7 separate regions of the Homo sapiens genome follow, and regions 2, 3, 4, 5, 6 and 7 are each linked to region 1. Evidence: promoter capture Hi-C in 16 types of primary human blood cells and fetal thymus (Javierre and others, 2016). All regions are on one chromosome and are shown on one strand. The core of a region is centred on a gene start or on the middle of the fragment in contact, and the rest is flanking DNA. Distances in the headings are between cores, read along the strand shown. Region 1 holds the start of DISC1 (DISC1 scaffold protein). Region 2 overlaps TRIM67 (tripartite motif containing 67). Region 3 overlaps GNPAT (glyceronephosphate O-acyltransferase). Region 4 has its middle 34 kb from the start of EXOC8. Region 5 has its middle 15 kb from the start of EXOC8. Region 6 overlaps SPRTN (SprT-like N-terminal domain). Region 7 overlaps EGLN1 (egl-9 family hypoxia inducible factor 1).

The links. The method cuts DNA at HindIII sites, captures the fragments that hold promoters and counts their contacts. A CHiCAGO score of 5 or more calls a contact.
Region 2: a contact is called between a fragment that was not itself captured here and the fragment with the promoter of DISC1 in region 1, in 1 of 17 cell types (neutrophils). The highest score is 5.6, in neutrophils.
Region 3: a contact is called between a fragment that was not itself captured here and the fragment with the promoter of DISC1 in region 1, in 1 of 17 cell types (activated CD4 T cells). The highest score is 5.6, in activated CD4 T cells.
Region 4: a contact is called between a fragment that was not itself captured here and the fragment with the promoter of DISC1 in region 1, in 1 of 17 cell types (activated CD4 T cells). The highest score is 5.3, in activated CD4 T cells.
Region 5: a contact is called between a fragment that was not itself captured here and the fragment with the promoter of DISC1 in region 1, in 2 of 17 cell types (neutrophils and non-activated CD4 T cells). The highest score is 10.6, in neutrophils.
Region 6: a fragment that was not itself captured here is called in contact with the fragment with the promoter of DISC1 in region 1 in 8 of 17 cell types (total CD8 T cells, naive CD4 T cells, activated CD4 T cells and 5 more); the score reaches 7.8 in total CD8 T cells.
Region 7: a contact is called between a fragment that was not itself captured here and the fragment with the promoter of DISC1 in region 1, in 12 of 17 cell types (neutrophils, monocytes, total CD8 T cells and 9 more). The highest score is 8.8, in neutrophils.

The regions. Positions count from the first base shown.
Region 1 is chr1:231,624,896-231,629,320 of GRCh38, reverse strand. DISC1 (DISC1 scaffold protein) reads right to left here and starts at 2,531. Exons shown (of 13, transcript NM_018662.3): 1 at 2,387-2,531. The coding sequence starts at 2,453. All of the region lies in intron 5 of TSNAX-DISC1 (TSNAX-DISC1 readthrough (NMD candidate)), which reads right to left. RefSeq lists silencers at 812-1,012, 1,986-2,045, 2,376-2,635. The HindIII fragment of the contact is 7,020 bases long and covers 1-4,425 here.
Region 2 is chr1:231,215,190-231,219,614 of GRCh38, reverse strand. TRIM67 (tripartite motif containing 67) reads right to left here. Exons shown (of 10, transcript NM_001004342.5): 10 at 1-4,240. The coding sequence ends at 4,175. Among named protein-coding and RNA genes, the nearest start is that of FSAF1, 24 kb to the left of the region's middle. RefSeq lists enhancers at 1,939-2,438, 4,130-4,239, 4,153-4,425 and a silencer at 2,970-3,029. The HindIII fragment of the contact is 2,684 bases long and covers 1,161-3,844 here.
Region 3 is chr1:231,273,832-231,278,256 of GRCh38, reverse strand. It overlaps GNPAT (glyceronephosphate O-acyltransferase), which reads right to left. Exons shown (of 16, transcript NM_014236.4): 12 at 4,195-4,335; 13 at 2,937-3,036; 14 at 2,759-2,852; 15 at 2,061-2,122; 16 at 284-758. The coding sequence ends at 715. Among named protein-coding and RNA genes, the nearest start is that of GNPAT, 35 kb to the right of the region's middle. The HindIII fragment of the contact is 1,659 bases long and covers 2,346-4,004 here.
Region 4 is chr1:231,301,577-231,306,001 of GRCh38, reverse strand. No RefSeq gene overlaps it. Among named protein-coding and RNA genes, the nearest start is that of EXOC8, 34 kb to the left of the region's middle. The HindIII fragment of the contact is 575 bases long and covers 2,248-2,822 here.
Region 5 is chr1:231,320,747-231,325,171 of GRCh38, reverse strand. No RefSeq gene overlaps it. Among named protein-coding and RNA genes, the nearest start is that of EXOC8, 15 kb to the left of the region's middle. The HindIII fragment of the contact is 9,707 bases long and covers 1-4,425 here.
Region 6 is chr1:231,339,688-231,344,112 of GRCh38, reverse strand. It overlaps SPRTN (SprT-like N-terminal domain), which reads right to left. Exons shown (of 5, transcript NM_032018.7): 2 at 4,245-4,344. Among named protein-coding and RNA genes, the nearest start is that of SPRTN, 3.6 kb to the right of the region's middle. RefSeq lists an enhancer at 4,334-4,425. The HindIII fragment of the contact is 3,543 bases long and covers 583-4,125 here.
Region 7 is chr1:231,360,786-231,365,210 of GRCh38, reverse strand. EGLN1 (egl-9 family hypoxia inducible factor 1) reads left to right here. Exons shown (of 5, transcript NM_022051.3): 5 at 1-1,455. It overlaps LOC107985360 (a long non-coding RNA gene), which reads right to left. Exons shown (of 2, transcript XR_001738520.3): 1 at 3,824-4,425. Among named protein-coding and RNA genes, the nearest start is that of SPRTN, 25 kb to the right of the region's middle. The HindIII fragment of the contact is 1,495 bases long and covers 1,548-3,042 here.

The DNA of each region.
Region 1 (4,425 bases), core at 1,282-3,781:
CCGGTTACACCTCATGTGCTATCCTAAGGGTTCTGGCAAATGAGTGTTGAAACAAAACAAAACAATCCAGATACCACTTAGAGATTTGTGATGAGATCTTGCAACCTGTTCTTTCAATGTTTTAATAACTTTTCTGCAAATTGTCATCATTTGTTTTACAAGAAGATAGTTTAAAGTATATTTTATAAAATAAGTCTGAGGGAAATTAAAATTATGCCAAAGCCTCTTTTGCCAGGATTAACAGTTCACTCTTACATTTTGGGTCTATAGATATGCAGGATGGAGGTTGGGCCTGGTGGCTCATGCCTGTAATCCTAGCGCTTTGGGAGGCCAAAGTGGGAGGAATGATTGAAGCCAGGAGGTCGAGACCAGCCTGAGCAACATAGCAAGACTCCAACTCTAAAAAAAAAAATTAGCTGGGCATGGTGGCATGCGCCTGTAATCCCAACTACTCAAAAAGCTGGAACAGGAGGATCTCTTGAGCCCAGGAGTTCAAGGCTACAGTGAGCCATGATTGTGCCACTGCACTCCATCCTGGGTGACAGAGCAAGACTCTGTCTCCTAAAGAAAAAAAAATTACCTAAATTCTAATATAGGTCTGTTCTGAATCACAGCTCCACTCTATAAGTTCAGTTTGGCAAGCGGCCAAGAACACAGTTGTGAGTGGCACCCACACCAGGGTTCTAATCCTGGCTTTACACTTAAGAGCTCTGTGAGCTTGGGAACCAAGCAGGGTGACCCTGAACCTCAGCTTTGTCATAGGGAAATGAGGACTGTAATCCCAGTCCCATAAAGATGCAGGGAGGATTTCATCAAAGGAATTCATAATAAAATGTCTGGCACATTGTAAGTTCTAAAAACCTGCAGATGTTACCATTCCCTCCTAGTACTATCATGTCTTATATGTGCATAGTGACTCATACTCCACAAGGTGCTTTCAGATCTTTTGCCTCATTTAATCCTCAGGCAATGCGATCAGTACAAAAGGCAGTAATTACTACCCCCATTTTTCTTTTATCTTTTTTGTAAACAGATGAGAAAACAGGCTCAAAGTCAAAGAGCCCGAAAAGCGGGTATCTTGTCCACGGTTCTTTTTGCTCTGTGGCACAGAACTGAACCTCAGAGGACTTCATGTACCATGCCGAGCACAGGAGAACTACATGTGTTTTTAAATGCCCTACTATTCCTGCATTAATCAAATCAAACTGGTATTCTCACATTACTCCCAATTATTTAGATTTTGCCTAGGAAAAATAGCAACTAAGGTTTTTTGAGAGTGCACTGGGTATTTCAGGCATTGGGCGAGGTGCTTCACTTCCACCATCACAGTTAAACCGCATAACAACCCTATGAAGCAGGTACTGTCATAGTCTCCTGCATGTCCAGGATTGACATGCAGGCAGACTGTCTCCAAACCCCAGTTCCTATGGTCCTAGTGCTGTCCAATTCAAATTTGTCCAGTTGATGATAACACTTTGCAAATTGATTTCCCATACAACAAACCTAACGACACATGGAGGCCAGGCTATGAGTGTTCTCCTTTACATTTCAGGAGACTGAGGCTCTGAGAGGTTAAGCGACTGACCCAGCCCTGTCCTCACCCAGCAAGAACACAAGGCAGCACTCCCTAACTCCAAATCTCACTGTCTTTGGAAAACCTCACATTTTAAGAGTGAGAAGGTAGAAGTCCTGTCATTGTTGAAAAACAACCATCCACAATCATCACTAAGAGTTGACAGCGAGACCCGCGCTCCAGGCGGTGGAAACCGAGCAGTCTCCGGCTTGGGCCATCCCCGTTACTGTAGCCAAGTAGGAAGTGGGCGGTGACACTGATTTCAGAGCAGCCCCTAGGGAAGGCACAGGCACCAGTTCCTGGTCCCGCTCCCAGCCTCCTCCCTCCAGGTCCCCGAAGGGGTGGAACCCGAGATCCAGCTGGGTCTTGGGGTTAAGGCGGGCGGGACGTCCCCTGTCCCGAGGGGGCGCAGGCTGGGGCGCACCGCAACGAGAGTGCAGGCGGCGCAGGTGTCCCAGGACGGGGACGGATCCAAACCCCAAGCACGCCTCTGCAACCTTTCCCGGTCACCTGGACACGCAGCGGGGGCGCGGGTCAGACTCCTACAGTTTCGCAAACTGCGGGTCCCGGGGATCGCTGCACAGTCCTGGGTCAGGGACCTGGCCCGGCTCGGCGCTGGTGCCGGGCTGGCAGCCCAAGACTCGCTCTTCTCTCAACCTCGCACGCCTCGCGTCCTGCCTCAGTTTCCCTCACCTCGAAAGGGGTTGTTAACAGAGGCACGCCCTGACCTACGCGACTTCCTGGGGGCCAGAGCGCGCCCTCCTTGCCAGGACCCCCCCAGGACGTGCTAGGACTCTGTGGCAGCTCCCCTACCTGCGCGGTGGCTCACGCCGCCGCCGCCGGCGGCGGCTGGGGCGCCCTGAGGACCCCCGCCTGGCATGCGCCCCGCTGCCAGCTCCTCCCGCTCCGCCTGGGCTGCCTCCTGCTCCTTCCCCGAGGCCAGAGGCGGGGGGAAGGGAGCAGCGCGCTGGACGGGAAGTGGGGAGGGGGCTGGCGACGAAGGGGGCGGCTCCTTTCTTCTCCTCAGCGAGTCCGCTGTTTCCTTTCCAGCATTGGCCCCTGACGCGCGCGCGCGCGCGCACACACACACACACAGACATACACACACACGCTGCTGGAGCGGGCGGGGCCAGCGGCCCTCACAGCCTGTCTCCGGGATCTCAGGACCTCAGAAAGTTTGCTTTCACTCTGACTCATTTCTGGAAGAAACAAGAGGGGAAGTGCAGGAAGCCTCCAGGATGGGGTACAGGAGGGCGCCTTCCAGACGCATGATTTAAGAAGTGACCACACAGTGATGGAGAAGATGGAGGGATGTGAGGGGCTCATTTATACAAAGTGGGGGCGGGGGGGAGGAGTGGGGATAACTGATGACCCTGGAAAGAGATGAGTGGGAGCAGATGTTTAGAAATGAGATAGGATTCCAACTTCTAGCATCTTCCAGCAGCTCCGGGCTGGTTCCAGGACACAGAAGTCCATGCAAGCTCCTAGGCAACTGACTCCCCCCTTCACCCCTTCTCTTTGGTTCATTCAAGGAAGCTACTGGAGCACCCCCTAGGTAGCACCTGCTATAGGACAATGGGTACAAGGAAGGGCTACACATGAGCTCTTTGCCCTTAAGCAGCTCACCTCCAGGCTAGAAGGAGAGCACGTGCATAGAAAACGAAATCACAACATGAGATAGAATGTGCCATGTGCCAGAGGCTTGGCACAAAACCTCTTGCAATGGTTCAGGGATAGGAGGGAGAACTGTGAAGAAGAAGGGTTGGGGAGACGTTCTGCAGGAATGGGAAGGATCTCCTTAGAACGAGAGGAGTTAGAACTAGAGGAAGGCTGAGGTCCTTCAAAAGCTGAAGATCTTAAGACTGAAAGCACACAGTTGTACTTAAAATCAGTGTGTTTGCCCGGCATGGTAGTGCACTCCTGTAGTCCCAGCTACTCGGCAGGCTTAGGTGGGAGGATTGCTTGAGTCCAGGAGTTCAAGGCTTCAGTGAGCTATGATGGGGCCACTGCACTCCAGCCCAGGTGACAGAGAGAGACCCCCCACACCCCCACCACATCTCTAAAAATAAATAAATGTATGAATATCTAAGGCCAGGCACTTTGGGAGGCCAAGGTGGAAGTTCACTTGAGTCCAGAAGTTTGAGATCAGCCTGGGCAACATAATAAGAACCTCTTTTTTTTTTTTAACTTTTAAGTTCAGTTTGTTACATAGGTAAACTTGTGTCATGGGTGTTTGTTGTACAGAGTATTTTGTCACCCAGGTATTAAGCCTAGTGCTCATTAGTTGTTTTTCTTGATCCTCGCCCTTCTCCTACCCTCCGCCCTCCAAAAGGCACCAGTGTGTGCTGTTCCCCTCTATGCGTCCATGTGTTCTCATCATTTATCTCCCACTTATAAGTGAGAACATGCAGTGTTTGGTTTTCTGTTCTTGTGTTAGTTTGCTAAGAATAATGGCCTCCAGCTCCATCCATGTCCCTGCAAAAGACATGATCTCATTCTTTTTTATGGCTGCATAGTATTCTATGGTATATATGTACCATATTTTTTTATCCAGCCTATCATTGATGGGCATTTAGATTGATTCCATATATTTGCCGTTGTGAATAGTGCTGCAGTGAACATGTGTGTGCATGTGTCTTTATAATAGAATTATTTATATTCCTTTGGGTGTATACCCAGTCATACGATTGTTGGGTCAAACAATATTTCTGTCTTTGGGTCTTTGAGGAATCACCACACTGTCTTCCACAATAGCTGAACTAATTTACACTCCCACCAACAGTGTAAAAGTGTTCCTTTTTCTCCACAACTTCTCCAGCATCTGTTATTTTTTGACTTTTTAGTAATACCCA
Region 2 (4,425 bases), core at 1,253-3,752, 410 kb after region 1:
TTTCTAGGAAGTGGGGAGCGGGCAGGGGGCATCTTCAGTGAGTGAAAATTCAAGACCCAACAGGTTGGCATCTGTTGGAGGTGGCTCACCCCATTTTCCCCTACCTGCCCCCTGAAGACACATGGAAAATCCTGGGCTTGGGTATCAAGATAAAGGCTGGCAGCTTTGTCACATACAGGCTTTCTATGGAACAAAGCAGCCGGAGCGCCACAGTCCCTCTACAGATCCATGCATGACAAACCACTGGCATAACCTGGTGGTTCTCAACTTGTGGAGGCCCCCAGGAGATACCTAGCAATGTCGACAGATACTTTTGGTTGTCACACCTAACTTGGGGGTTGCTACTGGCAGATGATGGGTAGAGACCAGGGATGTTGCTAAACATCCTACGGCATACAGAACCTATCGCAAAATGTCAGTAGAGGTTGAGAAACCCTGGCGCCACCCCACGGGCTGTGCAGCAGTGTTCTTTAGCATTCACATGTTGACTCCCCCTAAGGATTGACCCTCCCTCACTACCTCAAAGCCAGCAGGTGGCCATGGGACCAGCAGCAGCCTCCTTGACACTGAACCACCTGCCCACCGGTGCCGAAACCCGCCTTCCCAGGGGGACCAAGCCTTTCGCTTGCAATGAGAATTAAGGCTTAAATGCAAATATCCCTGGAAGAAATACACAAAGATCCTGCATTCTGATCCTTTCCTGAGAGTGCTGTGGTGGGGCGGAGGGCAGGGGCACCAAGAGGGAGAGAAAGGGCGCAAAGAGGAGGGTGGGCCTGCCCCCAGCTCTCTTGGTGAGCTCCACAGAGCCTGCCCAGGCTCAATCCGGAAAGCACCACCCTCCTCAAACTTGGTGGGCCATAGGGCACCTAGGGCGCTGTTGCAACTACAAAGTACATATCAGGCTGAAGATGCAGCCTGGAAATATATACAGTTTTATAGTGTTTAGGTCAGTTACCTTGTGGGTCAGTATTACTGGTGTCCTCTTTAATTGGAATCATTATTTTCCCAAGGAGAACAGAGAGAGGAAAAGCAGGCTTTGGGGAAATACCTTCCCCTGCTTTGAATTAGGAGCTGGGATGCTATGTATGCAGTGAGGTGCTAGTGGATATTTTCGGAAGAGATTAATTTTAAAAGGAAAAGGCATACACTTTGACCAAGCTTGCTCACTAGCAAAGAACAACTGCAGAACCACATTACAGAGGCACTATTTACAATGCAATGGAACTCGACATTTTTAAACTACTTTGAATTCCTTTTTCACTGAAACTGCTTGATAGATTTACACCAAGTTACTCCTCAGCCAGCCCAACAAAAGCCTCATCTTGATATCATTTATATGTATGTACAAATGTGCCACCATGATGTAACGTGTTATGGAATTCGATGGTGGATGAGAATTCCATGACCTGTCTGTCATTTCTACTCTGAAACCCGGGACCTTCCTGGCCATGAGGAATTGATAAGTTCCTTCTTCACTTTTCTGATCCCTCAAAAACACAAGTGTGTGGCACGGACCTGTCGTTCTCTTTGAAGTCAGAACATTGAAGGTGTTTTGTGCTGAAGACAGGAGAGGTGTCTGTGAAGGAGAGCTGGATGCTGTCCCTGGCATCGGCCGTATTGCTTCTGGGCTCCTGGAGGAGTCAGAAAAGGGAGAATCCCAGCCCCCAAGCTCAGGGTGGCAGTGGGGAGGAGGGAGTCCTGGCTGCACCTCTCTGGACTTCAGGGAACTTTTTTCTGAAAGAGGCCACCGGATTTGAGGGCATTACCCTCCTGCACTTTCCACTTCTCTCCTGACCTGGATGCTGCTCCCTCAAAGGGGTTAGGTTCAGGGTAGCCCCAGGCAACTTGTGCTCCAATGATGGGCGATTCTTCTGCAGAGCTGGGGCCACCTGGTGACCTGGGCTGTGGTGATGGTGGAGGCTCCACAGCCTTCCCCAGGGCTCCCCTGTGAGAAGCTGCTGTCACCAGGCAGCCCTGCCTAGCCCACTCTCATTCTGGGGGCAGGGTGTAGGCCTGTTTTTTTTTCAGAAGAGAGCTAGACACTTCCCAAAGCTGATGGCTTCCTTGGCCCCAGGAAAGTGGTGGCTCCTCTTCATCCTCAATCTTTAGGGATCGTCTCCATGCTCCAAGCAAAGGCCACCCAGAGCTATGGCTAAGGATGAAGCTGCAGGGATATGGGAGACAGAGGCAGAGGTGCGGGCAAGGACACAGGGTCCCAGGTCTTGTGTGTCACCACCAAGAGCTCTGGACAGGGCTCTGGGATGGGAGGAGGAGACCCAGAAACCGCTTGGTGAGATGACAAGGAAGAGGCAAGACCTAGACTTCCATGAAGCAGATAGCTCCCAGGCTCCGCAGCAGAGACTGCAACACAGCACCGAGCAGCTCCTGGAGACGGGGCAGCTGGCCTTGCCGGCCACATCTGCAGAGACAGCGGACCAAGCAGCCTTGCAGACCAAGAGCATGAGCTTTGAGGTAGGATTGTCGGGCCTGCTGAGTGGAGGGGGGGTACCTGCATGGCTCCGGCAGGCAGTTACTCAGAAAGCAGGCGCGGTGTCTGAACAGGAAGGCAGAACCAAGGACGCACAGTTGGTGCTGGTGAATGGGCGAATTTTATAAAAATCCAGTCCAGCAAATTGACAAGTCACTTCTCAGCCTCAGAAATAAAATGCTTGACAAAATATATTCTTTTTAAAAGGAGAGAGAAATGTTACTACCAGGTGGAGCTGGAGGTGGCAGGTGACTGGGAAGATGAGAGGAGGGAGGAGAGGAAGGGTTCCCTGGGAACAAGAGCCTGGCAGGCTCAAAACCCCTGCCATGAGCTGTCTCTGAGAGGTGTGGATGAATCAATGTGGATCTCAAGGGAGAAGCCTGGTGTTTCCAGAGTCCTGCCCTGGCAGGTCAGACTCGGCACACCCAGTCTCACAGTGGGAAGCTGGGAGACAAGGTACCTGATACTGCCCTTCTATTTCCTGCCTTCCCCAGAGATCCCGCCCACTGCATCAGGGCAGAGCCGTCCCGGCCTGCCACAGGGGCCACTTGTGTTCATGATGCTTTCATAATGACAATAGGGTGGACTGACTAGAACAGGCTTTCCCAGGGTCTCCCATTTTAAATGCTTATGAGTCTGAGAGTGGTTCAGCTCAGAAGAGCAATCTGGATGCATTTTCAGTTAACTTCTTGGGCTGCCAGTTTCAGAAAGGAGCCATCACCAGGCGAAGACCTATGACATAGTTGTTAAAATTCTTGTGTTTTCACGTGGATTTAAGAACTAAGAACTGAGTGAATTAATTTTAGGAGACTGTCATGCCTGTGTGTGTGTGAGAGAGAGAGAGAAGGAGGGAGGGAAAGAGAGCGAAAGAGGGAAGAAAGAGGCAGGGATGGAGGAAAGTAAGAGAGAAGGAGGAAAGGAAGAAAGAGAGAGCAAAGGAGGGAAGGAAGGAGAGAGAGAAGAAGAGAGAAAGAGAAGGAGGGAGGGAGAAGAAATGAAGGATGGAGGAAGAGAGAGAGAGAACACAATTGGCTGATTAATAAAGGAAGCCATTTTAAAAGGTTCTAACACTTCAGTGAGAGAGGCAAAAGTCAAGCATGAATGATTAATGTCCCTTTCTATCAATCCTGCATTGGGTCTGCAAGTGGCAGGTGCTACTAAAGACTCTAGGACCAAGAAGCTAAAAGATAACTTTCTCAGCATGATGAGAATCTGCAATCTCGGGACTCTGAGGAGGCAAGGTCCCCACGGAGGGCCAACACCCGGGGCGTGGGATTACAGCGCAGCTCCTGACTGCCGCTCTCAGGAGGCCAGTCTCAAAGTCTACCTTCCTCTCCCTCCAAAAAAAGACAAGCTTTGAAAACAGATGGCAGGAAACATAGACATGAAGCCCGAATGCTGACTCCCTTGAGAAAGGTCCTTCTTGGGGAGTGTTCGTAATGTCTGGGTGGAATAAGGGTGACACACGTACCTTCCTTTGCCACTGACAGTGGCAGCTGTGAGCATGGCCCGTGGACCCATTCCCTGCGTCCCCAAGAAAATGTGTTTCTATGACACTCCACGCTGCCAGGTTGCACCCATGATTTGCATATCCTGCTTTTGTGGGTTATTTGAGCTTAGTGAGAATGGTGGGCGTTTTGCCTGTGAATGTCACTGTCACAGGCACAGTGCCGAGCTGGAGCGGGGCTAATTGCCTGACAGCTTTGGCCGCCCCAGGTTAGTCGGCACTTCCAATCCTGTGTGCAGGGTGACCTGGAAAAGAAGACAGGGCAAGTGAGGGTGGGAGAGGCTGCCGCAGGGACCCTGAGGGCTCTGACAGCACCGCAGACACCGGCAGGATCCCCTGCTGGCTCCAGGGCCATCCATGCAATAGCTCAGGGCTGCTGTGGACTGTTGAATATTACGTCCCCCAGTATTCCTAATTAAAGGCTATGTTG
Region 3 (4,425 bases), core at 1,926-4,425, 350 kb after region 1:
CTTCCTCCGTCACTCCAACCCTGCCACTCTAGGGGCTGGCTCCTGCTCAATCCAGTTCTCAGCTTACATGTCACTTCCAGAGGTGGCTACTTGCCAAGGTTTCTGGTGTTACCTACTTACTCTAAATTTCTCTTCTCTTGAATTCTTACACATATTTATGGTGCATCACACAGCATCTTTTTGTTGCACATACTTGACTAATTCATTTTTGTTAATTAAGGCCCTAGGGTGGCCAACATTTAAAGTAAGCTAGCTAATTTATTAAATATCTCTTTCAAATTTGTACTTGTTTGAGGCAACTTTAATTAAAGCAAGCTACAAGTAACGTAGATATGCCCTTTTCATTTTCTTTTAATATCCAGAGCTTTCAGTGTTGTCATACTTTAATTCAAAAGTCAACATAAAAGTTTAATACATATAGTAAGCTGAAAAGTGTTAGTGAAATGAGCTGAGCTTTGCTTTTCCAAACATGTTTCCAAAAGTTTATTTTAAAACACACACATAGTGTCAGATACAAACGCCTTTTAACCACTGTGGTGGGGAAGAGTAAACTGATTGCTTCCAATGATCATCTCTTCCCTCTGCGTCCACTGTTCTCAGAGTCTCAGGGAGTATGAGAGGATGTGTCTCTTCCTTTACTTCCCTGTTTGTTGTAATGAGTCCTTCGATGAGAGTAATTACGTGACCGAATTTTCCATAACTATTTGTTGATTATTAAAGTTTTGCAGTGGCTGGTTTTCCTATTGGTGTCTTACAACCTAAGATGAAAAAAGAGAAGCAGCTCATGAAATGATGCTGATTTTGCCCTTCCTCATACAGCTGTTCCTTGGGCGACTGTCCAGGGGAGAAGCTGGAGACTTGTGCAGAGCTTCACAGGCTGGCCAGTACCCATGGGGACGCCAGCCCCCTCCACAAGGGAAGCGGTAGATGCTCCAAGAGGTGACAGCATGGCCAGAGCCACAGGGCCAGGGCCAGGAGTTGAACCCCGTCATGTTTTCTGAACTCCAGTCCAGTATGTTCACGCTCACATCACATCTGCTTTCCGTGATTAAGTAATTGATTCCGTCACCCTCACAGGGCGAGGTGTTTGTGGTTGTTTTAGGTATATGCACCTCTTCAGACACGATATAAATAGAAGACTGGGATTTCGACCTACATATTTTTTTCTACAAGGTCTAGTACTTCCGCCTTCCCGATATGCAACAACTACCCCACTGCCCTTCTACCCTTTTCTTCATCCATTCTCCTTTTCCGTATGCCCCATTCTGGTCTTCCGCAAATCCCAACAGACATTTATCTAAAGCTCTTCCATGCAGGTTTGACGAGGTACTGAATTAAGATTAGGTACAAAAACAGTACTTGGAAGACGATCCACTCAAGGACATCACGCCATTCAATATAATCAGCAGATTATTTTTTCCAAATGTTAACACCCTCCTTTCTAAAATGGCCGCATCATTGCTAGGAAAAGTGTTCTTGACCCCCTCTGATTGTACCTCTGTTTATGTCAACACTCAAGGACTCTTATGTCAAGGAAGACAACACTCAAGGACTCTTTTTGGACTAGACTATTTCTTCATAGCTGATAGGCTCTAGAGAAGAGTAAGGGTTGGATTATTCTCCCAAGGATGTGCTATCAGCCCTAATTCTGAGTTCAGAAAGTCTACATGATAGAGACACTGACACTAATCTCTCACTTGGGAAAGAAGCAATGCAAGACAGACAGTGAGAGCATCAAACAAAGAGTGGAGATGAGGTACTCTCTCTGAGGCAAGGATGTGAAGGGTCTGGGCCTCTGGCTGAGACCAGTCATGTTAGGGACTGACTCTTTCTACTGTGTAAGACTGCTTCTTTTATGCCTGCTGTGTTTTGTTAATTTTCTTTGTGCTTTCTCGTTAGCTTCCTTGAGAAAATTCCAGACTGCATAAGTAATTCCCTTTTATGTTAGAACTCTACTACTTACTGATCATTTTGATAAAGTATTTGGTGCCACAGTATACTTTCTTATTTTAATTCATCAACAAAATGTGAAAACTTGTATTTTATTAAACTGCACTTACCAAGCATTTCTTCTAATTTGGTTGTGGCAGGTTCATTCACATTAAATATACAGTTATTATTTCTAGGAGAAAATAATAAGCTTTATTATTACATAAACTCTGGGGAAAAGACAACTTTTATATTTTGTTCCTGACGTAGCTATTGTAAGACTACTTTTCAATTGCCTTCCTCAAGGCTGGGCCTAAGTAGTCGAAAGGCCTCAGGCTCCTGTCCCACCTCCTGGCTTCTTGCTTCATTCTTCTGACCACATAAGAGACATGACTGCCAGAGTTTACTATTAAGCTTTATCACTGTTAAATTCAACCACTTAGAAGAACATACATCTATATGTTTATATATACATATACAGGTATGTATCTATATATGTATTATGTGTGTATTTATGTGTGTCTACACTCATATGCCCACTACACTCCCGAAAATCTTTCTTGTAATTATAAATTTCAACATTAAGTCAAAGCAAAAATATTGGCCTAAAGTTATTTCTTCCTTTCTTTGCTTCAGTTGCATTTCTATTCATAACCACATACAATTTTCAGGATAACTCACACTGACTTAACTAATTAGAGGATGGATAAGGAAAGTAGAATATAGCATTTCCTAGATCATCCATTTCTATGTCTCTCTGGATTTTGAGCTCAAATGTCATTCATTTCCTTGTTCCTTGAGCACTCATGGGATCTTGTACAGTACTTACATCTTCTTCTTCTCCACTACTCCGAGCCTCACACAGGCTGCTAAGGCGTTTTTCTGCACATCAGAAGATAATACATCATAACATTGAGAGGTACCTAAAATTGGGGGTGAGGAAGAGTTAGTTGACCAGTTTCTATTCTCAACTAAAAGAAATCAGCACCCACAGAGCAGTGACTGACCTTGATCGAGAAGCTGACTTGTGAATTTTCTGACTGCAGCCAAGTACTGTTCCTCACTGAAGTGGTCCTCTTCTTCACTCAAAAGGTACTTGCAAATTATCTGATTTTAAGAGGAAGGATGAGGGGAACAGAAAGAGAAAAAGGATAGCCAAGTTCAACAGAATAGTAAATAACTTTACATTGCCCCTCTTAAGAGAAGGATATATCACAAGAGAGCAGCATAAAGACCCTCCAAGGAATGAGCCCAGAAAAACCAAAGAATTTTTAGGGCATCTCCTTTGAGTTTACATTTTACAATTAGAAAAAGATTTAAAATAATAATGACATTTATTAAAGTATAATTTCTCACTTCAAGGGGTACAAGTTAATTACCATCAGCTTCGTATCTCTTATGCTACTTGGGAAGAGAGGGGTCAGATTTTAATAACTTTGCTTTTTTTCTCTAAATACACCTAAGAAAGTACCATGCCCTAAAATACTTGATGATTTCTACTGTAGAACAGTGATTAAGGGTAGAACTAGCATTTATCAAATGCTCAGTAAGTGCTAGACTTTGTGCAAGGAGGCTGAATGAGTTATTTCACGGACCACAAGCACCAGGAAGTGGGTCCAGGTGCCCAGAGCCAGTGCATGTATTATATGAACAGAGCCGAGTCACAGCATCCTCTTCTCTCAAGCATGTGGAAGTCCTTCCTACAGTTTATGTTTCAGACTCTTTCTCTCCCGTTGAGTCCTGCCACAATTCCTGCTGGGCAACATACCATCCCATCTCTCTAACTACTCCCAAGAGCTCTGACAAACGCTTTCAGAACTTGCACTTGAACTTTTTCTTTCCAACATAAACATCTGGTAATCTGTAACTGACTTTATGTATCACTCAAGTCTTGCCTTTACTGAGTGCCTGATATATATCAAACCTCGAGGTTACATATTGACTGACATGAAGGCCTCATTAAGACATGAGACACAGTATGACAGATGATGCGTGGGTGTAACTGTGGTCCTGTGAATACTGTGACCATGGCATCACTAAGCTGTTGTCCTCTTGGGTCTGTAATGAACCAAGCTTCCTCCTGAATGCGGGGAGCAAGGTCTCACTGGTGAGGTGAAATCACTGATCGTATTAGTCACTCTCTCTCCTTCTTCCATTTGCCTGGGGAAGATACCTGCCCTTCAGACTGGAAATAAGCACAGGGTGAGAATGTCTTATTATATTTGATATGGGGGGCATGAAGGAGAACTTGCCAAATTTACATACCTGATAGCTTTCCACAAAAGGTTTAAAGAGTCCTACTAAAAATTCTAACACAGTATTTCCTTTCTCTGTAACTAGGATGTCTTTCGTAGTCACTTGTATGGCTTCACTTTTACAAAGCAGGTAACAGCCTTCTTCAAAGTCCTAGAAGGGAAGAGGAAGCCATAATGTTCATCTAGGTTAATGGGTATAGTGCCCATCTGAATACATGTACCCCCTCATCTAGGTTAATGG
Region 4 (4,425 bases), core at 1,286-3,785, 320 kb after region 1:
TAGTAATATGTGAGGCCACGAGGTTGATGAAGCCAATAATTGAAAGCCAGGTGGTAAAAAACAAGATGATAGTATCTGATGAGTAAGGCCTGGAGATTGACAAGGCAGAAACATAAAGACCCAGTGCTAAAGCCAGAGTTCAATGCAAGGATATTAACATCAAAAGGTTAATGCAGGAAGCAAGCCCGGGTCCCTAATGATAGCTGTGTGAAGCTAGGTAGCTAGCACTAGGTGTGTACGTCTTCATGGTGAAGGCTAGGAGGTCACATCCAGGACATTAACGGAAAGATGGAAAGGCCAGTTTTGTAAATCCAGGTAAGTAGGGACAGGTGCATAAAGACAGGAATATAAAAATAGATGGGTAAGGCCAAGGAAGTAAGGCCAGGGGGCTAAGGACTAGTAGCTAAGGCCATGTAGATAAGGCCATGTGGTAAGAACAATAGGTAAAAGCCAGTAAACTAAGGCCAGCGGTAAGTCCAGAGGATAATGATACCAGCTTGAGGCCAGTAGCACTAGAACAGAAAAGACCAGAGAGTGAGATGAATTATGAATGGCAACTGGAAGGTTTTGAAGGTAAGATCAGTTGGGTACTACTGGTTGGTTAAGACACGATCTTAACACCAGTGGGGTATGGACAGGTGGGTAAGGCAGGTGCATAAGGCCAGGGAATTCATACTGAATGCAAAAGGCCAGGAGGTTTATAAGGCAGGTGGTTAAATATAAGTTGGCAAAACCATAAGGTTAAGACTGGGTCAGGAAGCCAAGTGATTGAAAAGCCTGGGTGGGTAATGCCAGTAAGTTAAGGCCTCCCTAAATATGGGTAGGTAGATAGCTCCACCTGGGTAATAGTAAGAGGTTAAAGCTAGGCAGGTTAGTTCAGGAGGTTAAAGCCATGTGAGTTAGAACAAAAGGTTAAGGCCAGGTGGGAATGCCAGGTTAGTAAGCTATATCGGTCATCTAGGTGGGTAAGGCCATAAAGTTAAGGCCAGGTGGGTAAGTCCAGGTGGCTAATGGGGGGTGTCTAAGTCTGGGGGATGGGGTGAGGGAGCAGTGGTAAATCTGGGGAATAAGGGCAAGGGGGGATAAGTCCAGGGAAGTAAACCTAGGGAGGTAAATCCAGTGGTTTAAGTCCTGGTAGATAAAACCAGAAGGCTAAGGACAGTTGTGTAAACCAAGTGTGAAGGCCATGTGGGTCATGTATGGTTGTTGAGACTAGATGGGAAAGCTGGGTGGCTAATCCAGGTTGTTAGGGCCATGAGGTTAAGGCCCATAGGTTTAGGCCAGGTGAGAAAGGCTAATGGAGCATGGCCAGGGCTGTAAAACAAGGTGGGCAAGGACAGGGAGTAACGGCAGTGGAGTAAGGCCTCATGGGCAAGATCACGTGGGTCTTGACCAGAGATCAAGGCCAGCAAATTGAAGCTAGATGGGTAAGAACAGGTGGATAATGGCGAGCGGGAAGTTCTGGCCAGGTGTGTAGGGGCAGAACTTTTAGGCCATGAAATTAAGACTCGGTGAGTATGGCCAGGAGGTTAATAAAGCCAGATAGATAATGCCAGGTTTGTAATAGCATGAGGATAAGATGAGTGATGAAGCCAAAGAGCTTAATAAGTTCTGCTGAGTGCAGTCAGGTTGTTAAAACCAGGTGTTTAAGCCAGGCGTGGTGGCTCACACCTATAATCGCAGCACTTCGGGAGGCCGAGGCAGGTGGATCACCTGAGGTCGGGAGTTTGAGACCAGCCTGACCAACATGAAGAAACCCCATCTCTACTAAAGATACAAAATTAGCCAGGCATGATGGCACATGCGTAAATCCCAGCTACTTGGGAGGCTGATGCAGGAGAATCGTTTGAACCCGGGAGGCGGAGGTTGTGGGGAGGCAGAGGTTGTGGTGAGCCGAGATTGCCCCATTGCACTCCAGCCTGGGCAACAAGAGCGAAACTCCATCTCAAAACAAAAAACAACAAAAAACAAAAAAACACAAGTGTTTAAATCCCGCTGAATAAAAGACCCACGCTCGGAAATCAACGGAAGAAACACCCTGTAGGATTAAGGGCAAGTCGCCAAATCAGACAAATGATGACCCAAGGCTAATGCTAGGTAGGTAAGACAGTGTGGGGAAAGTGAGGAGGTGAAGACCAGCTGAATAAAACCAGTTGGTCAATACTAGAAGGGTATAAGGCCAGCAGATTAACCCATGCTGGCTGAGGCCAAGCAGGTGAAGAGGGCAGATGAGTATGGCCCTAAGCTTAATAAGGTCAGGTGGGGAAGGCCTAGTGGGTAAGGCCAGGTAAATAAGGCCATGTGGGAATGCCACCAGGTGAAGGCCAGGAAAGGAAAGCCAAGGTTTGGGACAGAGGATATGACACCAGGTTAAGACCAGTAGGGCTGGGGCAATTGAGGAAGGAAGAATCGAACATTGAGACTAATTGTTAAGGCAAATTAATGGGTAAGGTAAGGCTTAGGTAAGTGGGTAAGGCTGAGGAGGTAAGATCAGTTGGGTGATTCAGATTGGTAAGGACAGGACATTAATGCCAGTAGGGTAAGGTCAGGTGAGTATGCTAGGTACATAAGGCCAGGAGATTCATACTGGATGAGTAAGGCCAGGAGGTTCATAAGGGAGGTGGGTAAATCTCAGTTAGCAAAACCATGAGGTTAAGATGGTTAGGAAGCTAAACAATTGAAAAGGCTGGGTGGCTAAAGCCAGTAAGTTAAGGCCTCCCTGAATAGAGCTAGGTGGCTAACTCCACCTGGATAATGCTAAGAGGTTAAAGCTAGGCAGATTAGGCCAGGAGGTTAAGGCCATGAGAGTAAAAACAAAAGCTTAAAACAAGGCAGGAAGGCCAGGTTGGTAAGCTATGTTGGTCATCCAGGTTGGTAAGGCCATGAAATTAAGGCCAGGTGGGTAATGCAAGGTGTCAAAATGTGGGGATGAGGTCATGCAGTTGGGGGTAAATCTAGGGAGTAAAAGCAGGGGGATAAGACCAGGAAAGTAAACCTAGGGAGGTAAATCCAGGGGGTTAAGTCCTGGTAGGTAAAACCAGAAGGCTAAGGACAGTTGTGTTAACCAAGTGTGGAGCCCATGTGGGTCATGTATGGTTGGTAAGACGAGGTGGGAAAACTACGTGGCTAATCCAAGTTTTTAGGGCCATGAGGTTAAGGCCCATAGGGTTAGGCCAGGTGGGGAAGGCTAATGGGATCTGACCAGGGATGTAAAATGTGGTGGATAAAGCCAGGGAGTAAGTTAGGCAGCTGAGTATGGCCTCATGGGCAAGATCAGGCGGGATGGGTCTTGACCAGAGATTGAGGCCAGGAAATTAAATCCAGGTGGGTAAGAACAGGTGAATAATGGTGAGCGGGAAGTTATGGCCAAGCGGGTAAGGGAAGGACTTTTTGGCCAGGAAATTAAGACTTGGTGAGTATGGCCAGGAGGTTAATAAAGACAGATAATGCCAGGTTTGTAATACCACGAGGATAAGATAAAATGATGAAGCCAAGGAGCTTAATAAGTTCTGCCGAGTGCAGTCAGGTTGTTAAAACCAGGTGTTTAAAACCAGCCAAATAAAAAGACTTTTCTCAGGCCGGGAAATCGATGGGGGAAACACCCAGTAGGATTAAGGGCAATTCTCCTAGCCAGACAAACGATGACCCAAGGCTAATGCTAGTTGTGTAAGACAGTGTGGGAAGGCGAGGAGGTGAAGGCCAACTGAATAAAACCAGGTAGTCAACACCAGAAGGGTATGAGGCCAACAGATTAAGTCATGATGGCTGAGGCCAAGTGGGTGAAGAGAGCAGGTGAGTATGGCCCTAAAGTTAATAAGGTCAGGTGGGGAAGGCCTAGTGGGTAAGGCCAGATAAATAAGGCCACATGGGAAGGTCAATAGGTGAGGTCCGGGAAAGTAAGGTCATGGGTCAGGACTAGGCATAATGCCACCAGGTTAAGGCCAGTAGGGCTGTGAGATGTGAGCAAGACCAGAAGTTGGGACTAATTGTGAAGGCCAAATGGGTAAGGCTGGGTAGATAAAATCAGTTGGGTGATTCGGGTTGGTAAGGACATGAAGTTAAGGCCAGTAGGGTAAGGCCAGGTGGGTAAACCAGGTGCATAAGGCCAGCAGATTAATGCTGAATGAGTAAGGTCAGGAGGTTAATAATGCAGGTGGGTAAATTTATTTTGGCAAAACCATGATGTTAACACTGGGTCAGGAAGCCAAGCGATTGAAAAAGCCAGATGGGTAAAGCCAGTAAAATTAAGGCCATCAAGTACAGCTAGGTGGATAACTCCAACTGGGTAAGGCTGAGAAGTTAATGCTAGGCAGATTAGGCTAGGAGGTTGAGGCCATGTGACTAAGAATGAAAGGCTAAGACCAGGTGAGAAGGCCAGGTTGGTAAGCTATTGAGGCCATGAGGTTAAGGCCAGATGGGGAAGTC
Region 5 (4,425 bases), core at 667-3,166, 300 kb after region 1:
GAGACCCTGAGCTATATCAAAGGAAATGTTAGTCACATTTCTGCAATTCTAGAGTTCCAGCCCTTGCTATGTGGTGTTAAGCTGGGAAAGGTGCTATGGGAATTTGGGTGTGGTGGAGGCTCTGTTCTTTCTTCAGAAGCTCCTAACTTGTGTCACAAGATGAAACCTCTAAGATTGCACTGTCAACATGGAAGCCACGTGCAATTTTAAAAATTTTAAGTTAATTATCAATTAAATGGAAAGTTTAAATGCAGCTCCTCAGTTACACTAGTCCCATTTCAAGTGCCCAGTAGCCACCTGTGGCTAGTGACTACCATACTGCACAGCACAGATTTAGAACATTGCCATCGCCAAAAAACATTTCACTGGATGGCTTACCTAGGTTGCGAAGGAAGATGGGACCTCAAAGAGGCGGAAAGTGAAGTTTGCAAGGTGCAGAACTGTAATCATGAAAAATGTTGAATGTTTTACCTTTGCCTCAAGAGTACTGTTCCACCGCTGTCATTTTCTCTCCTTTTAAAAGAATCATTTCTCACTTCATGGTTTATTTTCTTTTTACCTACAGTTTCATTCACTTTTTTATTGTTCCAGTGTTTCATTCTCTTATTCTCTTCTTTCTCTTGCTGTTTCTTTTTTCATTTAATATGATTTATTGATTAGCAAGAGAATTTTGCTTCTGGTTATGGTGGCCTAGGCATTTCTGACCAATCCTTCCCTGAGAACAATTAGAACTACTTTACACATTATATATGCAAAGAATATATCTGAAGGCTGCAGTAGAATAAAAAATATATCTGGTCTTTTTTCTTGGTTTCTGGCATAGAACTTCAAAAAACCTTGGCATTTCCTGAATGATGTTTTTGTTATGCTAATAAGGTGACTCCTATTTGGGCCCCTAGATATCTTCAGGATTGGGGCTGGTCACCAGAAAATTGACCATATAATCATGGAAGTGGAATGTTAATTTCCTGCCCCGCTTCCCCCCACCACCACAGAAGAGATGGAGAAACTGTAGGTTGAATTTTATCACTTGCCTAATGATTTAATCAAGCATGCCAATGTAATGAAACCTCAATAAGAACTGTACATCGAGGATTGGGTCGCTTCCTGGTTGGTGAACATATTGATGTACTGGGAGGATGGCACACCTGGACTCCACAGGGACAGTCTCCTGTTTCCCCCACCCCCTCCAGATCTTACCCTATGCATGCTCCACTTGATTGTTCCTGAGTTGTATCTTTTACAATAAAAGCTGTAGCTATAAATATAGCACTTTCCTGTGTTCTTTGAGTCATTCTAGGAAATTATCAAACCTTGGAGAGGGAGAGGGAGTGTCATGGGAAGCCCCAAATTTATACCCTGATGGGCAAAAGTGTACGTGGCTTTGGGACACCCCAGGACTTGTGACCTGCATCTGAAGTGGGGGCAGTCTTATGGGATTGAAACCCTTAACCTGTGGGGTCTTGTTCCCCATGGCAAATCCATATGAGTCTGCAGCAACCTCAATTCTTGCCTCCTCAGACAAAAAGAAGTTGACTGCGGGACATAAGGCAGGAGGAGAGACTGAGGCCAGTTTTAGAGCAGGAGTGAACGTTTATTAAAATGCTTTAGAGCAGGAAGGGAAGTAAAGTATGCTTGGAAAAGGGCCAAAGACACGACTTGAGAGATCAAGAGCACCGTCTGACCTTTTGACTTGGGGTTTTATTCATTGGCATGCTTCCTGGGTCTTGCGTCCCTTCTCCCGATTGTTCCCTTGGAGTGGGCTGCCTGCATGTGCAGTGGCCTCTAGCACTGGGGAGGTGAGCATGCGCAGTGTGTTCACTGGGGCTGTATACATGCTCCCTTGAGGCATTCTTCCCTTACCAGTGGGATGCCCCTAGAAGGTCATATACCAGTTAAACTCTGCCATTTTTCCTTTTCGGGTGCATGCTTGAGCCAACCTGCCCTACCCCTGAGATCTTATCGGGAAGCTGCTGATCAGTTTCAGGTGTTTGTGTCTAGTGGTAGACACCTGTTCCCTGGGGCCAACTGCAACCAATTATTATTTTAGAGAGACATCAAGGGAATTTGGGATTGCTAGTGCCTCTGGTGGTCTACCTCACCACTGCACTCCAACCTGGGTGACAAAATGAGATGTTGTCTTTAAAAATAAAATTAAATTTAAAAAAGAAAATAATAAAAACAAAAACATATAAGTCAGGAGAGAAGTACATAAAATTCAAGTGATTTAAGTTCTTGCATTGCCTGTGAAGAGGTAAACTACTTATTTATACTCTAATAAGTCAAGGTTCACATTGTAATCTCTAGGGGAATTACTAACAGAATGTTTGTTTGAAACAAAGTCTCACTCCGTCACCCAGGCTGGAGTGCAGTGGCGCCATCTTGGCTCACTGCAACCTCCACCTCAGGGCTTCAAGCAATTCTCCTGCCTCAGCCTCCTGAGTAGCCGGGATTACAGGCATGCGCCACCATTCCTGGCACATTTTTGTATTTTTAGTAGAGATGGGGTTTCACCATGTTGTCCAAGTTGGTCTTGAACTCCTGACCTCAAGTGATCTGCCCACCTCAGCCTCTCAAAGTACTGGGATTACAGGCATGAACCACCACTCTAGCCAATTTTTTTTTTTAATGTTTAACTACAGATATAGCAGTGTTCATGCACCATTATTTGTAATACCCAAAAGGTAGAAACAACTTGTGTCCATTAACAGATGAATGGAGAAACAAAATGTAGTTTTGTTTCATAAAAAACATAAAAAGACATACAATAAAACATGAATAAACATTAAAAACATAATGCTAACAGAAGTAAACCAGGCCAGGTGCAGTGGCTCACGCCTGTAATCCCAGCACTTTGGGAGGCCAAGGTGGGAGGATCACTTGAGGTCAGGAGTTCTAGACCAGCCTGACCAACATAGCGAAACTCCATCTCTACTAAAAATACAAAAAAATTAGCTGGGCATGATGGTGGGCACCTGTAATCCCAGCTACTCAGGAGGGCGAGGCAGCAGAATCACTTGAACCTGGGAGGCATAGGTTGCGGTGAGCAACATTGCACTCCAGCCTGGGCAGCAGAGTGAGACTCCATCTCAAAAAAAAAAACAACAACAAAAAAAACAAAACGTAAACCAAACACAAAAGCACAAATATTGTGTGATTCCACTTATATGAAATTTCTACAATAGGCAAATCCATACAGACAGAAAGTAGATTAAAAGTTAGCAGGGGATGGCCAGGCACGGTGGCTCACACCTGTAATCCCAGCACTTTGGGAGGCCGAGGCAGGCGGATCACGAGGTCAGGAGACCGAGACCATCCTGGCTAACACGGTGAAACCACGTCTCTACTAAAAATACAAAAAAAATTAGCCGGGCGTGGTGGCGGGCACTTGTAGTCCCAGCTACTCGGGAGGCTGAGGCAGGAGAACAGCGTGAACCCGGGAGGCAGAGCTTGCAGTGAGCCGAGATCCCGTCACTGCACTCCAGCCTGGGCTACAGAGCAAGACTTCGTCTCAAAAAAAAAAAAAAAAAGTTAGCAGGGGGACGGGGGAAGTTAGCTAGATGGGAAGTTATTGTTTAATTGTTACAGAGTTTCTGTTGGGATGATGAAAAAGTTTTGAAAGTAGATAATGGTGATGGTTGTACAACACCGTGAATGTAATTAATGTCACAATTTAAAAATGCGTAAAATGGAAAATTTTATGTATATTTTACCACAATCGAAAAAAATTGGGCTGAGCACAGTGGCTCATACCTGTAATCCTAGCACTTTGGGAGGCTGGGGTGGGTGGATTGCTTGAGCTCAGGAGTTCGCGACCTGCCTGGGCAACATGGTGAAACCCCGTCTCTAATTAAAAATATATATATATTAATAGTGTAAAATAACAAAACCTGTTGATTGTATACTTTAAACAGGTTGCAGCCATTAAAAAAAGATGAAATCATGTCCTTTGCAGCAACATGGATGCAGCTGGAAGCCATTATCCTAAGCAAATTAATGCAGGAACAGAAAATCACATACTGTATGTTCTCACTTATAAGTGGCAGCTAAACACTGGGTACTCATGGACAGAAAGATGGCAGCAACAGACACTGGGGACTACTAGAGGGGGAAGGATGGGAGGAGCCAAGCACTGAAAAACTAGCTATTGGGTACTATACTTACTACCTGGGTGACAAGAGCAATCATACCCCAGACCTCAGCATCATGAAATATACCCAGGTAACAAACCTACACATGGACCCCATGAATCTAAAATAAAAGTTGAAATTATTAAAAAGGCAAAAATAAAAAAATAAAATCCAGGTAATTGTAAGTATATAAATTATATCTTAATAAAGCTGTTAAAAATGTTTAATTAATCAGTTAATAGATGGGGGAAAATGAAACAGTAAAAATTATCCAGTCAATCCCAAAGTAAAAATG
Region 6 (4,425 bases), core at 1,105-3,604, 290 kb after region 1:
TAGGTTCCTGATTTTTGGTTCAATTTAATTAAACATTAAAAAACATCTTGAAAATGGTACTGAACTTTTTAAATATCTATCATTTTCCATATTTAGTCTTAATTCAAGGATCTATACACAACACAGTCCCAAAATACCTCTGTTTTCCATGACTGTTCTATCGGGTTAAAATGAACTACCTCTAGTCCTAAATATGCCCCCAGTTGTCTGAACTCACTTTTGTTCACATTATTCCCATGCTTTCTGCCAAGAGTAGCCTCCTGTCCTATCTCTGCTTGTCAAAAGTACAATTCGTCCTTTAATGCTCACCTCTCCATGTTTTAATCGCAGGAGTGATGAGTTGAATGGTAAAGGGGACAGAACAAGAGCCTTAGAGTCAGGGAAACTGGAACCTAAACCCACAATCACAGCATGAGACCTGGGACAGGCTCCAAGTGGCTCCTCATCCCTAAAATGGGATATCCTCATTTTGCATGGCTGTGGTAAAGACGACGTTTAGTCCAAAGTCTGACACACAATAGGTGCTCAATAGTGAGCAGCAGGAGTGGTGATGGTAGTAACAAAATGTACAGTTATAAAGCTTTTCTTGACCTCCTCAACCAGATAAAGTCTGTTCCTTTTCTGAACCCCCTTCTCTATGATTTAGGTAACTACAGTTGTGCCTCACTTGGCAGGGATATGTTCTGAAAAATCCATTGTTAGGCAATTTTGTCATTGTGCAAACATCTTAAGAGTGTACTTACACAAACCTAAATGGTATAGCCTATGTAATATATATATATATATACACACACCTAGGCTATAGAGTATATATACCTAGGCTATAGAGTATATATACCTAGGCTATAGGGTATATATACCTAGGCTATAGAGTATATATACCTAGGCTATAGAGTGTATATACCTAGGCTATAGAGTATATATACCTAGGCTATAGAGTATAGCCTGCCGCTCCTAGGCAACGAACCTGCACAGGATGTTACTGTACTGAATGCTGTAGGCAAGTGCAACATAATGGTAAGTATTTGTGCAACTAAATATAAAGAAGAAAAAAGGTACAATAAAAATATAGTCTTGGCCAGGTGTGGTGGCTCACGCCTGTAATCCCAGCACTTTGGGAGGCTGAGTCGGGCGGATCACGAGGTCAGGAGATTGAGACCATCCTGGCTAACATGATGAAACCCCGTCTCTAGTAAAAAAAATACAAAAAATTGGCCTGGCATGGTGGCGGGTGCCTGTAGTCCCAGCTATGTGGGAGGCTGACGCAGGAGAATGGCCTGAACCCGGGAGGCGGAGCTTGCAGTGAGTGGAGATGCGCCACTGTACTCCAGCCTGGGCAACAGAGCGAGACTCCATCTCAAAAAAAAAATAAATAAATATAGTCCTGGCCGGGCATGGTGGCTCATACCTGTAATCCCATTCACTTTGGGAGGCTGAGGCAGAAGGATCACCTGGGGTCAGGAGTTTGAGACCAGCCAACATGGTGAAACCCCGCCTCTACTAAAAATACAAAAATCAGCCAGGCGTGGTGGCGCACACCTTTAATCGCAGCTACTTGGGAGGCTGAGGTAGGAGGATCCCTTGAACCAGGGAGGCGGAGGCTGCAGTGAGCCGAGATCATATCATTGCACTCCAGCCTGGGCAACAAGAGCAAAACTCCATCTCAAAAAACAAAAAATAAAAATAAATAAATAAATAAAAATATGGTCTTATAATCTTATGGGACCACTGTTATATATGGGGCCTGTCATTGACGAAAATGTCATTTTGTAACTTTCTGCCAACAGGAAATGCTCACTTGATACTATTATACATTCCCCATTCTCTTCTCACCCACTACTTAAAAACATTTTTTTCTCATGTGTTTATGTAATCATTTACCCAATACATATTCATTAAGCAACTCTTCCAGTTAGGGCTCCTTCTAAGGCTGATTTGGTTAATCATGCTGTTCAACTTTTTAAAATGTGTATTATTTTTTTCCGCTTATTCATTGGGTTACTAAGAAGGTTGTGTTAACATTCTTCAAGTATGAGTCTGGGTGTCTTGGCTGACACCTGTAATCCCAGCACTTTGGGAGGCTGAGGCGGGAGGATTGCTTGGGCCTGGGAGGTTGAGGCTGTAGTGAGACAGGGTCTTGCTCTGTCACCCCAGGCTGTAGTGCTGTGGTGTGATCTCGGCTCACTGTAACCTCCACCTCCCGAGTTCATGCGATTCTTGTGCGTCAGCCTCCTGAGTAGCTGGTACTACAGGCTGTGTCACCACACGCAGCTAATTTTTGTATTTTTAGTAGAGACGGGGTTTCACCATGTTGGTCAGGCTGGTCTCAAACTCCTGGCCTCAAGTGATCCGCCTGTCTCAGCTTCCCAAAGTGCTGGGATTATGGGCGTGAGCCACCGCACCCAGCCTGATTGTATATTCTTTTTGCTTCTGCTAATTTATGCCTCATAAAATTTAAAGTTATGTTATTACTTTTGGAGAGATTATGTATTGTTGCTTAATAGATTATTTTATTATTATAAAATATCCCACTTTTCCTCTAGTAAAACTTCTTCCCTTGAAGTCTTTAGTCTGATACTAATACTGGTTGAACATCCCTAATTTGACAATCCAAAATCTGAAATGCTCCAAAATCTAAAACTTTTTGAGCACTTACAAGATGATTAAAGGTTAAGTTCTAAGGAAATGCTCACTAAAGCCATTTCAGATTTGGGACTTTTGGATTAGGGAAGCTCAACCAGTAAGTATAATGCAAATATTCCAAAGTAAAAAAAAAAAAAATCTGAAACACTTCTGGTCCCACTTTGGATAATGAGTACTCAACCTTATAGCCACAATAGTTTTCTGCTTTTAAGTGTTTGGATGATTACTTTTCCTCATCCTTTTAAACTTAAAATAAGTGTGTCTTTACTGTAAGCATGTCTCTTTTAATCTAGCATGCCATTCCATGTATTTAATGGAGTGTTTAGTCCACTTACATTTAACTGATATTTTGTTTACACCTACCTTTCTCTTTATCATCTGAGCTCTGTTCTTTTTCATTAATCAAGTATTTCTACTGTACCACTTTACATTTAGTAGCTACTTTTTAAACAAACTGTGGTAAAAAAAATTAACAAAATTCCCCAACTTACCCATTTTTATGTGTACAGTTCAGTGTTGAGTATATTCACACTGTTATGTAATCCATTGCCTTTTATTATCCTTAAAAACAGCATCTCTCATCTCCAAGCATGTTTTAACATGCTTCCCACCCCATGCTCAGAAACTACCACTGTGCTCTTTTGTACAGATAATTCTTTCTTTTTTTTTTTGAGACAGAGTTTCGCTCTTGTTGCCCAGGCTGGAATGCAATGGTACGGTCTCGGCTCACTGCAACCTCCGCCTCCCGGGTTCAAGAGATCCTCCTGCCTCAGCTCCCACTGCTCCATTCTGCTAGCAGAAGTAAGTACCAGCTCTAAATGTGAAGCGTGCCCTCACACTGGTTTGTGCTGCCAGCTCAGCTAGGTGTCCTGAGAGCACAGCAGTGTTGCAGCCCAACTGAGGAGAATCAAAATTTGTGTTTCTCAACAGGAACATGTGGATCCTGTTTTCTCTGTTTCTAAATAAGTAACTTAAGCCAGTTACTTAACCTCTCTGAACCTTAATTTCTTTACTCATAAAAATGAAAACAGCAACACATGAACATAAACAGGGCTGTTGTAAAATCAAAACAGATAATATACCTAGAAGGCTTTTATTTTTTTGAGACAGAGTCTTGCTCTGTCACCCAGGCTGGAGTGCAGTGGCGCGATCTCGGCTCATTGCAAGCTCCGCCTCCTCAGTTCATGCCATTCTCCTGCCTCAGCCTCCCGAGTAGCTGGGACTACAGGCGCCGGCCACCACGCCCGGCTAATTTTCTGTATTTTTTTTTTTGTAGAGACGGGGTTTCACCGTGTTGGCTAGGATGTTTTTGATCTTCTGACCTCGTGATCCGCCCGCCTCGGCCTCCCAAAGTGTCGGGATTACAGGCGTGAGCCAGCGTGCCCGGCCCCTAGAAGCCTTTTTTTTGTTTTTTTTTTTTTTACTATGAAGCACTATAAAAAACATAAGGTGTTCATTATTGTTTGCCCCATAATTCAAGCTTTCACTGAGGGCAAAGTGACTTTTTTTAACGATACATACAGGCGAATTCACAGCAGTCTAAATCATTGACAAGTATTTGTAAATTACTGCGCTAGGAAGCAAGTTTACACGAAAAATACCTCTACAAGATCCTTTCTTGGCCTCAACTTCAAAAGGGGTTCGCTGAGACGGATGGAACACATTCCACCCTTCCCTTCATAGCTGCATATCCCAGCACACCTAGAAAACAATCACCATAAAAATGTGTTACATTGGCCAAATATGCCCAAGTCCTTACACATTCTTGGGCAGTTCACACTA
Region 7 (4,425 bases), core at 1,046-3,545, 260 kb after region 1:
CTGATCTGCAGACAAGAACCTTGTCTCTGTTGAAGAGCATCAAGGGGAGATTATGTACACATTGAAACTGAAGTGTGGTGTTACTGACGGAATGTGCAGTAACTCCTCAGATATCTGTTAAGGCATTTCCCAGATGTGATGCCAGCCTTCTTACCTGTACTGAAAGATGCTTAGCTTAGAAAAAAACAAAACAGATGCAAAATCAGATAATTTTATTTTGTTTCATGGGTTTTCTTATTTACTTTTTAAACAAGGAAGGAATATTAGAAAATCACACAAGGCCTCACATACATGTTATTTAAAGAATGAATTGGGACGGATGTCTTAGACTTCACTTTCCTAGGCTTTTTAGCAAAACCTAAAGGGTGGTATCCATATTTTGCGTGAATTATGGGTGTAAGACCTTGCCCACTTAGGTTTTCTATCTCTGTCCTTGATCTTCTTTGCCAAAATGTGAGTATACAGAAATTTTCTGTATATTTCAACTTAAGACATTTTTAGCATCTGTATAGTTTGTATTCAATTTGAGACCTTTTCTATGGGAAGCTCAGTAATTTTTATTAAAAGATTGCCATTGCTATTCATGTAAAACATGGAAAAAAATTGTGTAGTGAAGCCAACAGTGGACTTAGGATGGGATTGAATGTTCAGTATAGTGATCTCACTTAGGAGAATTTGCAGGAGAAAGTGATAGTTTATTGTTTTTTCCTCGCCCATATTCAGTTTTGTTCTACTTCCTCCCCTTCCTTCCAGATGATAACATCACATCTCTACAGTAAGTGCCTCTGCCAGCCCAACCCAGGAGCGCAAGTTGTCTTTGCCATCTGGTCTATAGTACAGTGCGCGGCGTTAGGCCACAACTCAAAAGCATTATCTTTTTTAGGGTTAGTAGAAATTGTTTTATGTTGATGGGAGGTTTGTTTGATTGTCAAAATGTACAGCCACAGCCTTTTAATTTGGGAGCCCCTGTTGTCATTCAAATGTGTACCTCTACAGTTGTAAAAAGTATTAGATTCTACTATCTGTGGGTTGTGCTTGCCAGACAGGTCTTAAATTGTATATTTTTTGGAAAAGTTTATATACTCTCTTAGGAATCATTGTGAAAAGATCAAGAAATCAGGATGGCCATTTATTTAATATCCATTCATTTCATGTTAGTGGGACTATTAACTTGTCACCAAGCAGGACTCTATTTCAAACAAAATTTAAAACTGTTTGTGGCCTATATGTGTTTAATCCTGGTTAAAGATAAAGCTTCATAATGCTGTTTTTATTCAACACATTAACCAGCTGTAAAACACAGACCTTTATCAAGAGTAGGCAAAGATTTTCAGGATTCATATACAGATAGACTATAAAGTCATGTAATTTGAAAAGCAGTGTTTCATTATGAAAGAGCTCTCAAGTTGCTTGTAAAGCTAATCTAATTAAAAAGATGTATAAATGTTGTTGAAACATTATGGTGGTTATTTCCAGCTGTCTTTTTTGTTTTTCAATCCTTTATCATACATTGGCTTTCCGAATGATCCCTTTCATCAGATAAAGCTTTTCTGGCTTAGTCTAGGACATTTGTTATAACTTTTTGTAAATGATAATGAAGGAAAGAGAACAGTAAACATAGGAGTTCAACAATTTTAGAAACATCCCTGGGGTCATTGGACTGTCTGTGGGATCCATGAAGTCTGTTTGGATTCTCAGCACTTGAATTCTTGCCCTTTTAGTAGGATTTTTAAAATTATTTTAACATTCATAGCTGTTGACAGATCTGTATCACCCCTCTGCTGCAAAAGGAAGTGGGGTTAGGCATTTATCTCTAATTGTCATAGATGTACCATTGTGTATATGCAAGAAGGTTTAATTTGTGTGGTCATAACTAAAATATGAGAGCTCTTATTAAGGTGAGATCAAAATACCTGTTTATATATCTGTTATTTAAAGAAAAATTTTCCACAGTGTTTTGTTATTTTCCAGCGTTTCTTAGAACATTTGGGAATTACACTAAAATATAGCTGGGTGGATTGAAGTAAAGGGCAAATGAGTTTGAGATGAAGTTTGAGATGTGCTTTTTTATATACAAAAAGCACATCTTCCACCTTAAACAGTTGTATGAGACCTAAATGAAATACAGTGTGCAAAGTACCTTACAATGCATGGAACAAAGTAGGCCTTCAACGAGGATTATTGCCCTTTCCTTTAACAATATGATAGCATAATTGCAGAGAGAGAAAATTGGGGCAATGAGCTTTGAATAGCTAACGGTTTTATCAGTTGTAAATGTGAATCATTTGGAAGCAGGAGTGTTGTCTTATTAATGACAGGTCTTATTTTATAGCTTAGATTTAAATTAAGTCACTGGTGCAAGGCACTTCATCAGATTATTTTCCCAAAGTGCAAAAGTGCATGTGATCCAAGAAAGAGAGCTGTATTTGGGTATGAACTGCAATGATACATATTTATGTCATATCTAATAACATAATTGTATGTTGGATTTTTTCAATTAGTTTATAAATATTCAGAAGTAACTAGTCTCCATTGCTTCAAAAGATAATTGTTTAGACTTCTCAGGTCATGAATTTATCCCTCAGATTATGTTTTTGGTTTGAATTTTATCTGAACCATGGCGATGCTCAAGTATGTACCATGGGACCAATGGGACCAATGAGATGTGTGAAGGGCATGGCCTCATGAGCTGGAAATAGTTTCATAAGTAGAACACACTAAATGTCAGCCACTTCACAAGATGGGGAGAGCCTAAACAGCTGCAAGTAGCTAAAGCTCTTTTTATTGAATAATTACTAAACAGTTGTCAAAAATTATTGATAATTTTTGCTCTGAACAAGATGTCATTGGGGTCAGAAAGTTACTAGATAGGGCCTTCATTGAGATTAGGATGTTTTCTGCCAAAATTATTCCAAATGTCTTCTACAAAATACCTTTACATTTTTTTTCCCTAGTACATGCAAAGTGTAGGCAAAGCAAATTTTGTCTCCATTTGTAATTAAAACAGGATCAGAGAAGTGACTTGCTCACAGTCACAAAGCTTGTAAGTGGTAGAGAGCCAGGAATTGAGTGTGAGCTTTCCTTGTTTAGTTTTGTTCGAGTGGCTAAATCAACTTGTCTGTGGTTGTTAAGAAAAACAGTAGTCCCAGCTGGTCACGGTGCTCAGCCTGTAATCCCAGCACTTTGGGAGGCCAAGGCGGGCAGATCACTTGAGGCAGGAGTTCGAGACCAGCCTGGCCAACATGGTGAAACACAGTCTCTACCAAAAATACAAAAATTAGCTGGGTGTGGTGACACACACCTGTAGTCCCAGCTACTCAGGAGGCTGAGGCAGGAGAATCACTTGAACCTGGGAGGCAGAGGTTGCGGTGAGTCTTTGCCATTGCACTCCAGCCTGGGCAACAGAATGAGACTCTGTCTCAAAAAAAAAAAAAAAAAAAAAGTATTGCCTTTAAAAATTCTTAATTAAAAAAAAAAAAGTAGTCCCTCACATTCTTCCCCTGAGAAAACAAGTGTCAACTGTTTTAAATGATTCTTTGGATATCTCCCCACCCATTAGTTTAAATAATATAATTGGATTGCTGCCTCTTGATTTTTTTCAGTGTTAGGCATTTTCTCCTAACTTCTCCACACGGCAGATCTCTCTCCAAGGTTCCTCCACCATCTCTACCACACATAGGCAAGCAGACATCCATCTCCCCTGGTCTTCCTTCTGTTCCTATGCTGTAACCGAGATCAGGTTCGTGTTCCTGTTATGGCTGTGCTAGTCAAAGCTGAGACATACAGGAAATCATGTTGACTTGACTTTTCTTCCACAACTTACTTTTTCCCTTAATGTCTTGATTTTTCGTTTGTTCCCTGTGGCTTCTAACTTGCACCAATCTGGACTGGTTGCTCTTAACGCCTGGGGCACAGCTGTCTTTCTTGGGTCTCCCTTCACCTGTGTTCTAGAGATTTCCTTCACCACTCTTCGGTCAGCTCTCCTGTTTCCTGGATCCCATGTCTTCATCTTTCTTGGTTTACTGAATGGAGCATGCCCTCTAATACTTCCTGTAGAAATGTATGGATGGTAAATTTTCTGAGACCAATATCTTTGTTTTACCACCACATTTCATTGGTAACTTTGGAAATCATGTTCCAGAATTTTGAAAGCATTGCCTCACTGGTTCTAGGTTCCAGTGTGTAGATACTGAGAAATCTGAAGCCATTCTTATTTCTGATTCTTTATATGTAATCTTTTTCTTTGTGGAAGCTCATAGAATATTCTTATCCCCAGGGCGCCATAGTTTTATAGTGTGCTTTAATGTGTGCCACTTGTCAACCTCTGTGCTAGGAATGCAGACTGTAAAATCACCCCACCATTTTGGGACATTTAAATTTTCTCCATCCATTCTCTGTTCTCTCTTTCTGGCACTCCTTTGTCCA